Regions from separate parts of the Homo sapiens genome. Here all the other regions are linked to region 2. The links are contacts of gene promoters, found by promoter capture Hi-C in blood cells and fetal thymus (Javierre and others, 2016). All regions are on one chromosome and are shown on one strand. The core of a region is centred on a gene start or on the middle of the fragment in contact, and the rest is flanking DNA. Distances in the headings are between cores, read along the strand shown.

Region 1 (4,002 bases), core at 1,464-3,963, 6.4 Mb after region 2:
TTACCTACTTTATTTATATGTACAAATAAGGTTAATCAAATAGTCCTTCTACTTATTTTATGAGAGCACTGAGAAAAGAATTTATTTATTCTTTTTTTTTTTTTTTTTTTTTGAGATGGTCTCACCCTGTGGCTGAGGCTGGAGTTCAGTGGCATGATCTTGGCTCACTGCAACCTCCATCTCCCGGGTTCAAGCAATTCTCATGTCTCAGCCTCCTGAGTAGCTGAGATTACAGGCGTGCGCCACAACGCCCAGCTAATTTTTGTATTTTTAGTAGAGATGGGGTTTCACCATGTTGGCCAGGCTGGTCTTGAACTCCTGACCTCAGGTGATCCTCCTGCCTTGGCCTCCCAAAGTGCTGGGATTACAGGCGTGAGCCACTGTGCCCAGCCTACTGAGAAGAATTTAAATTATGGAATGGATGACAAAAACTTGATTGTGAATAAGCTCTTGAAAATGCATCAGATCACTGAAGCGAGGTGAACAAATGTTCCAACAGAAGTGTGAGGAAGAATATCACACAGACGTTTCCTTATTTACCATGAGCGAAGTTCTCAAAAGTCAGAGAGTTGTCTAGTCCAGCCCTTTCCATTAGAGAGGAGGTCTCTCAGTATACTAAGAGTATTTCAACAAAAGTAAATATATATATGAGAAAGACTTGGGCAGTAAAGAAAAAAAAAAGATTTTTATTTTCTAATTATTCTTTGTTAGTAAGGGCCCTAAATCTAGAAGTGTATATGCTGGAACACACTAGACCATAATACAAGAACAATCAAGGACAAAACAAAAAGGAATTTAGAATGAACAGATTATTCCCCGACTCACACTGTGAGGGGTTATAACTAGTCCCTTAGTGACCAATCTCAGCAAGGCAGTCATTCAAGAAACCTGCAAGTCACTCTTTACATTCCGTCTTTTTCCTACACCATAGCCAAATCCTATAGGTTCTACTTCCAAGATTAAAAACAAATGCACTTTTCTGTATCACCCCTGTAACCATCTCAGTCTAACCCTCCATCATCTCTTGCCTGAACCGGCCTTCCATTGCTCTCCCATTTTCCACTACTCTATGTTTTCCCTAGATAGCAGTCAGAGGAATTTTTTAAAACTGTCCAGTGGATCTCCTAGTCTGTGCACTAAAAAATCCTCCAATGGCTTCCCAATATACTTGAGATATAATCCAAATTACCTAATATGACCTGCAAGGTCTTCATGATCTGGCCCCTGCTTCCCTCACCACTGTTCTTTATTTTTTACATACCGCTTTCCACCTCACTCCTGCACACTGGCTCCCTTTCAATTATTCAAACCCAGTGAATTGTTTGCTGCCTCAGGCCATCGTACTTCCTGCTGTCTCTGCTTAAAGGCTTTTTCTGTCTATTCTTCACCAAACTCATTTATCTTTCAGATAACAGCTTAAAAATCACTGTATCAGAAAGGCCTTCCCTTGGTTCTCCAACATAAATTAGGGCTCCCTCTTACATGCTTCCATCATACCAGTTATTTACTTTCACATAATGTCTAAGGGTATGTAATCACTTATTTGTGTATATGTGTGCATATGTGTGTATTTGTATACTTTCTTTTTTGGTCTCCCTTAACACATTATAAGCTCCCAGAGGACACAAACCATCTGCCTTTTGTCTATTACTGAATACCCAATGTTCAGCACAGTCCTTGGCACAATATGTATTTTTTTTAATGGATAAATGACCTTGTAAGGTGGGTAACTCCTTACTATAGATGAGGATACTAAGATCCAAGGTTATTAAGCAACAGAAAAACTGAATCAGTACTCTAATGTCTGCCTAGAAAGTACTAGAAAAAATTTTTTTTCCAGCATGATCTGTTTGAATCTGAAGAACAGTAGATTATTATTGTCTAGCCAAATACTGTGATTTCTACTAGTTTTTTCCAGATGGCCACATATGCATTCATATGTATATGCAGACTTATATTCTAAGTGGTAAAATTTTCAAAGCTTTCTTTCTTGGAAGAAAATATTTTCTGATTTTTCTGTTTTTCTTTCTACTCAGCTACAATTCATGATCCTTGGACACTGTTCAGTTCATTAGAGTCAGACACAATGAAAGAACGAGCAAGGGAACAAATGGACATTTTTTGCTGGATCAGTGGAGGTACTAGATTCAAACAATCATTTAATGACTTAATAACTAACTTTTCAGAATGTTTTCCTTAAAATAATTTTGTGAAACTCATTTCTAGTCACTGCAGGTAAAATTTCTTTCAAAACCTTTTAGGTTAATTCTGTTGCTATTTCTACTATAGCACAACTACATGATTTAAAAGGCCAGGTTTCCATGCAGGCTTTCATTATTTCACTGCCTTCAGTGAGAGCATGAGAATCTCTGCTGTGTCCTTGAGAGCAGCCTCAAGTCAAATAAAAAGTAGACTTTAATTGCACTGAGCATGTCTGCAGGGAGGATAAACACTTTTTCTCTACTCTTGTAAGTTCAGTAGCAGAAGCCTGCAAATTAAATTGACAAATGACAGATAAACAGGAGAAAAGGTTTATTTCATATGCACATGGGGGGCCTCACAGAAAGGAAGTGAAAACCCCAAAAAGCAGTTAGGCCTAAGAGCTTATATACCATTTTTTTAAAAGGTGATAAATTGTGGAGAAGTGATAAGACAAAGGAAAAAGGGGTGGGACTTGTGAAGGTGGTAAATTGTGGCCGAGTAAACTATATGAGGGAAACTATTGGAAGACAAGGGTTATTTTGCAAGGTTTGCCATATGACTCAAGTTGGTGCTCTGGTGATAGGAATCTCCTCCTCCTAGTGTGGGATGGGGAGGAGGAACAACTTCACAAAGGGAAATTTATGTCCTGCTTTTAGGCAGAAATAGGAAAAGCAGAGTGTTTCTTCTGTTCTGCTGTTTCTTAATTGCCTTCAACTCCAAATAATGCTTGTGTCAAAGTGGCATGTTTTGGGGTGGCATATTCTGGATCTCCTTCAATGTCCAACAATCCCAAGGAAATGGAAAAGTGGGGAGGAAAGAAATGATTTTGGGGGAACCCCCTTTCAGGAAGTTTTTCTCAAATTTGGATCCCAGAAGTACTCCCTGAGACCCTCTAAGATTTTCTTTTTTTTTTTTCCCATTAAAAAGAAATTTGGCAAGATATACATAAAACATAAAATTTACCATTTTTAGCCATTTTTAAGTATAAAGTTCAAGAGCATCAAGTTTATTCACATCGTTGTGCAACCATCACCACCATCTATCTCCAGACTTTCTTCATCTTGCAAAGCTAGAACTGTAGACATAAAACAGTAACTCCCCATTCCCACCTGCCCTTCCTTTCCCACAACCACTTCCCACCCCCCAACTGTCTCTATGAATTTGACTACTCTATGTACCTTATATAAGTTGAATCATACAGCATTTGTCCTTTTGCGACTAGGCATAATGTCTTCAAGCTTCATCCATGCTATAACATGTGTCAGAATTTCCCTCTCTCTCTTTTATTTTTGAGACAGGATTTGCCCAGGCTGGTCTTGAACTCCTGGATTCAAGTGATCCTCCCATCTCAGCCTCCTAAGTAGCTGGGATTACAGGGATACCTCGCCACACCTGGGTCCCTCCTTTTTTAAGGCTGAATAATATTTTATTGCATGTATATACTACATTTTGTTCATCCATTCATCCATTGATGGACATTTGGGTTGCTTCCACCCTTTGGCTATTGTGAATAATGCTGCTATAAACATGGTTGTACAAATTTTTTTTTGAGTCCCTGTTTTCAATTCTTTTGAATATATACTCAGAAGTGGAATTATTTAATCATACGATAATTCTATTTTTAATGTTCTGATGAACCATACAATTTTCCATAGTGGCCGTACCATTTTACATTCCCACCAGCAGCACACAAAGGTTATAATTTTTCCACATCCTTGCCAACACTCATATTTATTTTCTGTTCTGCTTTGTTTATAATCATCATTTTAATGAGTGTGAAGTTGTATCTCATGGTTTTGA
Region 2 (4,025 bases), core at 1,180-3,679:
AAGTCAAAGACTGTCAACTTTCCTAGTGGATTCCAATACTCAATAAAATTTAAATTTTAATAACATAGTTTGAAATGATTAAAGACAAATTCCTTTCGATTTTTCTATCTTGAAATGTGCATCTGACCAAACCAATTTTTTACCTACATTTACATAGACCACTTCTCAGAGGTGACTTTTCTGATTATGCAACATATAAGTATACCATAAGATCAACATGATAAAGTTATCTGAAGTCTATCCCAACAAGAGAGAATGCATAATTCACGTGTATGCAAAAGCAGTAAAATAAACTATATTTTTCTATTCTTCAATAAATGAACCTATAAAAAATGTAAATAAGAGGCAAACTTTGGTCCCATCACTGGCTCATTTTTATCATTTTGACAAATTACCGAGTACAGCTATCTGAAAAAGCTTAAAATCTAAAGTTGTAATCTTTTTACATAAAAGTAGCCCGTTTCGGGACTGATTGTGTGGCTCAATCAGAGGAATCATCACTCCTAAAAGTCTGCCACTAAACTCTGCTACTATCACCAGAAAATGAAGTATGTATTGTAAAATAATAATAACAGTGATAATGACGATGATGAAGGAAAGAATCATTATGGTAATATATAGCCAGTAAACAGATGAATGAAGAGAAAAATTAGTGGGGAAAAGGTCTAAGTGATAACTAAACTTTAAAATTACTATTTAAAATAACAATAATCTTTACACAACACCTTTTTGTGCTGTGGAAGGGAGCTATAAATTCAAAAACATAAGTATGCTACAATAGAAAAGTTTCTGGTGCTTTGACTCAACATGTCGCTCTAACACAAACATACATCTTTTTCTACAAATATTTTCACAGTTCCAAACACTTCATTCAGGAATCGAAAAATGAATAATGGAGGCGTAGTTTTGTTAGGCCTTTAACAATCATTTTGTCAAAGGGAAGACAAGTTCGACCCCAAAATAGTAACTAAATACAACAACGTACTGTTTAAGTACTCCCTACAGAGTTTACTGCATTGGTTTTTAAATTTAGCTTAAAATAAGATAGTAAAGTTAGTATTTAGAGAAGCCTCAATAATCGATTATTCTTTTTAAATTAAATATCGCTACATGTAATGCAGATTAGGACTAGAATATTAAAGCAGTGTTGCCACTTAACATTAATCCATGAACATATTCTACGCGTGACTACTGGAAAGCACTAATAACCACCCCAATCTAGTCTCTAGGAATTGGCATTTAAAAGCCCAAAGATGGAAAAAGGTCACCTAACCCGGCAACACATCCTGAGGGAAAGGAGGGACACAGGACTCCGTGCGCGATATCAACATTCTCTTCCTTTCTACTCTCCGCACCGCCCCCGCCCCCCGTGTCAGGTGATCAGTTATTTAGCACCATTAACACGTACGTATCGACAAGTGGTTCATTAAATTACATGTATTATCGGAAGGCAAGAGTCTAGGCTTCTCATTTCAAACTAAGCAAAAGGAGTCCACAGTTTGAGTCCCGGGCACAAAAGCGCGCGGTAACTGGAGGATAAATGGAAGAGCAACTCTCATCTCCAAAAAGCAGCAGCAGGGAGCAGCCTAGCAGCCAGGGCCAGTCCCAGTTTCCCGAAACCAAGGCCCAAAGCTCCATGCTGGGGCTCCCTGAGAAGGAAGAGGCCCCAACGGCCGGATCCGGGGGCCTGCGAGACGGGCCTTCCAGGCAGCGCCCGCCGTGCCTCGGGCCTGCGCGCCCGCGCCTCAGCGGCGGCGGGGCGCCCTCGCAGCAGACGGCTGGGTACCAGTGGTCGGGAGAGAGGCCGTGGTCCCGACCCTCCGCCTGGCGACCGCGTCGCTGCGACTCCCTCCCCAGCCCGCGGTCCAAATGGTCCACAGGCGCCAGCGGCGCGGCCCAGGTAGGCCGAGGACGTTGCGCAAGAGGCCCGAGAGGCGATCTCTCGGCTGCGCGGGAGAAAAGCGCGGAGAGTCCGCCGCGGGAGGGGCGGAGAGGCCCGCGGAGGCGCTGTGCGTGTGGAAGGGGATGGGGGAGGGGAGGATTGCCCGTCTCCCTGGCCGCGGCCACAGCCGCAACTCACCCAGCTCCGCCAGACGAGCGCTACCACTGGCAGCAAGAGGAAGATGGTGGACGCTGCCGCCGCCGAAGAGGAGGAGGAGGGGGCCCGGTGGGTGCCGCGGAGAGGGGGTACGCGCAGGACGTCGGCGTCGCTGCCACAGCCTCTTTTCCTCCTGGGACCAAATGGCTGCTGCTGACGACACTATTCTTGGCTTCCGCGCCGCCCTCCTAATCCTCGTTGCAGCCGCCGCCGCCCTGAGCCCGAAGGTCGCTTGCCGCGTGGGGACGGTGCGACGGCGCGAGACCCCGCAGCCATCGGCGTGCGGCGGCGGCGCGGGAGCTGGAGAGGGGCCGTGTCACGTGACCCCACTGTTTACCGTTCCGGGGGCCGCGGCCTGCGTCGCTGCCGCGCCTGCGCGCTTTAGGGCCTCGAGCGCCGCGCCTCCGTGGGGCCCCGGGCTGCAGCGCTTCCCGGCGTTGCCGCGCCCCTCCCTGTCTTCGGAGGACGCGGCACCGCCTGCGGGCTTCTAGCTCACACCTCCGCGCCGCCGGGAGGGGCGAATCAGAGGAGCGCTTTTTCTCGACCGTAGTAAGCACTAAGGCTTCACAGTTAATATAATATTGATGCGCAGCTCCCCAACCCCAGGTACTTTTTATTAATTGACTGTGAGTTCAAGAATGGTAGAATAGGATGGAGTAGATGAGCCCTCTGCCCAAATATCTGTGCTGGCTCGGCACAGCAGCCTTACCATTAACTACCTCCGTTACCCTCACCCTACATGGCTGATCTACCTCAGGACTCAAATTGCTACCTCCAAGAAACATTCTTGGTATCCAGTAAGCAGTCTTCAGAATGTGGTCCCAGGTTTCCCTGAGGGGTCGCCAAGACCTTTCAGTAGAGCCTCCATTCCTTTGCCAGGAGCATGTGTCTAAGGCCAAATTTTCTTCCCACCCTTCAACCAAAACAGCATATAGCAGCTGATTCAATGCAGAAACAGATAAGAGAATCCAGCCATCTTCTATTAAGCCAGACATTGAGGAAATCTGCAGAAATTTTAGATATCACCCTTTTATTAATTTGGAAAATATGCTTTTCATAAATACATTATTTGTGGTAACAAATATTGTGTAGAGGTCCAGAGACAAAAAAAGTTTGAGACCCACTGGTCTGCTTCCACAGACACTTGAGCTAACCCCTATCTCAGCCCTTAATAAGCGCTGTGAAGTAATTGTTGCTTGTCAGTCACTCCAACCAAAAGGAGCTACTTAGGGACAGGGTTTGTGGCTTTTATCTACAGGGACTATTACAGTATTCAGCCAGTACCTGCTGAGCACCTTACTGTGTGGTCTGCACTGTTCTAAAACCTTTACAGTACTTGTTGATTTAAGCTTTAGACCAACCGCAGCCCACATTGTAAGATTAGTGCAGGGTGGAAGAATAAGTCACAGGCATGTGGTGAAGATCTGTTCTTTCCTCTCTCTAGTCTTCTGATATTTTAAGCACTCTTAATAGCAAATGCTCTTCTACAAAGGAAGTTTGGGTTGTCCTGATTCCACTGGATTCTTAAGAGTTTCACCCCCTGTCTTGACTAATCAATCCCTCAAGACTTTGTTTTACAATCTTTTTGTAATGTGTTTTTGAGAAAGGAAAATAGAAATGAGTAATTTTTTTTTTTAATTCTCACTTGGGATGTCTGGGATGAATTATAAAAACAAGCCTAATGTTATTCTTACTCTTCTGGTGGATCTCAGTGTGACGTTTTAAAAGGGCGTTCAGAAAAAGTAAAATTATTGTTATAAACAAAATCCAACCCCGAAGGAATTCAACAGAGTAGAACTTGATGACGGAGACCACTAGCTGGAAAATCCCTTAGAAGGGCTGAGGAAAACTTACCTTCTCAGAGAAGTTTTAATAAATTTAAGATAAAACAAAATGGAGATTAAAAGAAAATGTAAGAATCATAAGA
Region 3 (4,138 bases), core at 722-3,221, 6.2 Mb before region 2:
CTTTGTAGGGACATGGATGAAGCTGGAAAACATCATTCTCAGCAAACTATTGCAAGGACAGAAAACCAAACACCACATGTTCTCACTCATAGGTGGGAATTGAACAATGAGAACACTTGGACACAGGAAGGGGAACATCACACACTGGGCCCTGTTGTAGGGTGGGGGAAAGTGGGGAGGGATAGCATTAGGAGATATACCTGATGTAAGACTAGTTAATGGGTGCAGCACCTCAACATGGCACATGTATGCATATGTAACAAATCTGCACGTTGTGCACATGTACCCTAGAACTTAAAGTATAATAATAATAATAATAATAATAATAATAATAATAAAAGAGTGTGCCTGGTTATGTCGTTATCTGGTTGGGTGCAGTCTCTATTGATTAGGTGAACATCTGGTCCCTTTTGGCATGATTCCTTTTGAAATGTAAACAGAATCTTTTTCTAAGAAGTAGTTACTTATGTCAAGGGTGCTCTATACAATCTGGAATAGAGATATCAACCTGGAAGCGATACCTCTCTTCACTTTAAGGAAGCTATGACAGAGGTCTCCAGGGATATGAATTATTAGGAAGAAAGAGTGAAATTCAAACATTTGCAGGTCTAGAGGGCTTAAAGCCAGCTTATGATGGTACCAGTTCAAGTTAAAACTGTATTCTCCCCTATTCCCTTCTTATTCTGTCCAGGCAGGAAGGACCATCCTATTTTTTCCCTCAGGCTTCCAGCCGGAAGTAGATTATAGGTAGAGCATAACTCATCACCACATAATACATTGGAAAAAGATGATGGTATTTTTTCTCAGAGTTGTTTCTTGACTACATCACAGTGGTGAAACATGCACTCACACCCCTGTGGACTCAGGTAAGCCATCCCAAGAGTTTCCTCCCTGTGGACTCAGGTAAGCCATCCCAAGAGTTTCCTCCTTCTTCTTCATTGTGGGCCTATGGCAGTGTGTTTTGTTTGCTGATGCATATACCTTTACATACAAAGCTATCATGGAAATTCACAGGCATGCATACATCTGAATAGAAAGGCTATAACATCATGTGATAAGTTCATGTCCAGCCAACCAGTTATCCCGGCTGGGCACCAGTGCCAGTAAATTAGAGTGATTTGGGCAGCTAGTCAACTTTTATTCAGAGTCAGCTGTCTCATGCGTCCGTGTGAAGAGACCACCAAACAGGCTTTGTGTGAGCAACATGGCTGTTTATTTCACATGGGTGCAGGCGGGCTGAGTCCGAAAAGAGAGTCGGCAAAGGGTGGTGGGATTATCATTGGTTCTTACAGTTTTTCGGATAGGAGGTGGAGTGAAGAGCAATGTTTTGGGGGTAGGGGGTAGATCTCACAAAGTACATTCTCAAGGGTGGGGAGAATTACAAAGAAACTTCTTAAGGGTGGGGGAGATTATAAAGAACATTGATCAGTTAGGGTGGGGCAGAAACAAATCACAATGGTGGAATGTCATCAGCTAAGCTATTTTCACTTCTGTGGATCTTCAGTTGCTTCAGGCCAGCTGGATGTATACGTGAAGGTCACTGGGGATATGATGGCTTAGCTTGGGCTCAGAGGCCTGACATCAGCCATTCTTGCAACCTGGTAAGGAGTTCTGCTAATCACACACATTCCACCTTGTACACGAGGGCCAAACTTCCTTTTGGTGAAGAAGTATAAACCTCTAAAATTGACTTGGATCTCCAGGTCCACCTAGCCCATTCTTTGTGGAGTTCCCTTGCTGTTCTAGTCTATCAACTTAGGCTGAGTCAAATATCTCAATAGGTTGCCCAGCTATGAGCCAACACCCTGCTCTGCAGCCCTCCCACATCTCAGCTTGCAGGGAAGCCAGCGAGGGCAGCGTGGTGATGTCACTGCGTCCGCACGCGCCCCGCCCCTGAGCAGTCCTTGCTGCCCCGCCCCCGCTCGGCTCGCCGCCAGGGGACGCTAGTGGGTCCAGTCTCCTTGGCAACCACTTGCTCCTCCCCCTCCGCCCCTTTAACCTTTAGGGTGCGCGGGTGCAGTATATCTCGCGCTCTCTCCCCTTTCCCCCTCCCCTTTCCCCACCCCGGGCGCTCAGGTTGGTCTGGACCGGAAGCGAAGATGGCGACTTCTGGCGCGGCCTCGGCGGAGCTGGTGATCGGCTGGTGCATATTCGGCCTCTTACTACTGGTAGGGGAGGCGCTTGGAGTTTTCCCCATGTTTGGACTGGGGGAGGAAGGGAGGGGCAGGCCCTGCAGTTGGCCTCTCCGGGCCCCGGAGACCCTCTTCGCCCCGCCCCGCTTTTAGCTTGGACTGTGGAGGGCTCCTTAGTGTTGGGGGCTTGGGCGGGCGGCGGGGGCAGGGGGGTGTCGATTTCCGGTCTCTTTTGCTGTCATTTCACCGATGACGTCTAGGGTTGCAGGGTCCTTTTTGGAAGCTCTTGCCGTCATCGCTGACTTGGGCAATGGGGCCGGTGGGGTTTGGGGGCGGAAGAGACCCTCGGGGTTGAGAAGTATGTGGTGGCCTTTCGTCCCCTGTAAAACATTGTCACACGGTGTGGGGCGGCAGCGCTGGATCTTTGCAAGTTAAGTAGGCGCTGGCGTTGTTTACTTGTCACCTTCTCTGTATGTTTTTTCCCTCATTTTCCCTACCCTTGGGGCTAGTGAGTCTCCAACCTCTGTGCCCATTGTGTGATTCTGCCTTGATGACGTGAGTTGCTCGTTCTGACTTCCAGGTGTCACATTCTCTTCTAATCTTTTTTTGATTGGTGTAGATACCTGTGGAGGGCGGAGCTGTAGCCCTCTTTATTACCAGTATCGGAGTATATACTACTACCTGTCTGACCTCAGGTGCTTTCTTTTCCAACGATCTTATTTCTGCATATTCAGTGAGCAAAGTGTAGATAGAAATGTCTCAGAGTGGCCTGGCTATTACTTCCCTGTTCATATTAAAACCCTTTGGTTTATTTGGGAGTTCAATTTATTTCCTTTCATAACTTCTCTACCTTCTCAAATCTTCTCTTTTCTCATCGTCCGAGGCTGTAGTTACTTTCTGTTCTCACGTATTTTGACCTTTTTGCATTGCAAAACAAAAACCTCCAGTTCTGGAAATCAGGCTTGTTTGGTTTTACTTTAATTGTCAGATCCAGTTGGTGTCTGGTACCTATGTAGTATGTTCTAGTAGATTTTTGCAGTAGAGACTAAAAAAAGAAAATAAAAGAAAAGAATGGTGTGAAAATTTAAGAAAAGGATCCTCTTGTTACTGCCATCACTGTCACAGATAAAAACACTGCCTTTACCCTGGAACATGTTAGTCCTCTCTTGGAGGAAATGAAACCCTAAAGGTTGACTGTGGTCTCTGCAGCCACCCAGTCCTGTATTTGGAGAGCCCCCTGGCTTTTCCAGTCCATCAGATTTAGTTTGTTTAGAAAAAAATAAATAAGCATGTAATGTATGAAAGTTACGTGAGACTATCTTGGCAGTTATAAATTAATAAACATTTACGGTACAGAAGTGGTGTGAATTGTAAGAGGATGTAAACCAAACAAAATACGGCTTTAAAGAGGGCCTGAAGATAAGTGAGAAAACTGAAATTCTTGAAACATGTATTTTATGGACCGAAAGCCAAAGTGTGACTATAAATAAAGCAGGACTTAAGAGAATAGACAACAATATTGGAAGAAAATGAGAATTGTGGTAGAGTTTGGATAGATGAAGAAGAGAGGCCATTTAAGTTGGCAATATTACAGCAAGGACAAATAAAATCAGAATTGAATGTTGTCGTGGATAAAAGCATTAGGAAGAAGGACTTTTGTTTAAATTTCTGCAAATCTCTTTAAATCCTGGTTTATTAGAAGAAAGGCTGGTTTCTTTTGTTGCCTTCTACATTCAGTCTTTTGGGGTATGTTATTTTAGTCGAAGTGTATGGAGAAAATACAGCTGCAATGATAGGTAGTCAGAAACAGAGGAGCGTTTTTCAGATAATTGTGGATGTTTTTTGACACTACACCAAAGCTCAACAAGTGGAAGATTCATGTCAGCTGCAAGGTGGAATCTGAAACCCTATCAATGAGCATTTCATTCATTGTTACATTAAAATCCATTAGCCCATCTTGCACTTTGAAAGGCTCTTTTACCCATGCATGGTTTTATAACATGATG

What was found. The method cuts DNA at HindIII sites, captures the fragments that hold promoters and counts their contacts. A CHiCAGO score of 5 or more calls a contact.
Region 1: a fragment that was not itself captured here is called in contact with the fragment with the promoter of PHF3 in region 2 in 1 of 17 cell types (naive CD8 T cells); the score reaches 5.7 in naive CD8 T cells.
Region 3: the fragment with the promoter of LMBRD1 here is called in contact with the fragment with the promoter of PHF3 in region 2 in 3 of 17 cell types (non-activated CD4 T cells, naive CD8 T cells and activated CD4 T cells); the score reaches 12.4 in non-activated CD4 T cells.

The regions. Positions count from the first base shown.
Region 1 is chr6:57,223,752-57,227,753 of GRCh38, reverse strand. It overlaps a transcript of PRIM2 not described here. Among named protein-coding and RNA genes, the nearest start is that of RAB23, 3.4 kb to the right of the region's middle. The HindIII fragment of the contact is 1,459 bases long and covers 1,984-3,442 here.
Region 2 is chr6:63,634,206-63,638,230 of GRCh38, reverse strand. It overlaps PHF3 (PHD finger protein 3), which reads right to left and starts at 2,429. Exons shown (of 16, transcript NM_001370348.2): 1 at 2,081-2,429. RefSeq lists silencers at 1,655-1,834, 2,275-2,634 and enhancers at 1,852-2,672, 3,204-3,741. The HindIII fragment of the contact is 3,030 bases long and covers 420-3,449 here.
Region 3 is chr6:69,794,843-69,798,980 of GRCh38, reverse strand. LMBRD1 (LMBR1 domain containing 1) reads left to right here and starts at 1,971. Exons shown (of 16, transcript NM_018368.4): 1 at 1,971-2,168. The coding sequence starts at 2,100. RefSeq lists enhancers at 2,050-2,279, 1,908-2,463, 2,590-2,639, 2,464-3,020. The HindIII fragment of the contact is 19,066 bases long and covers 1-4,138 here.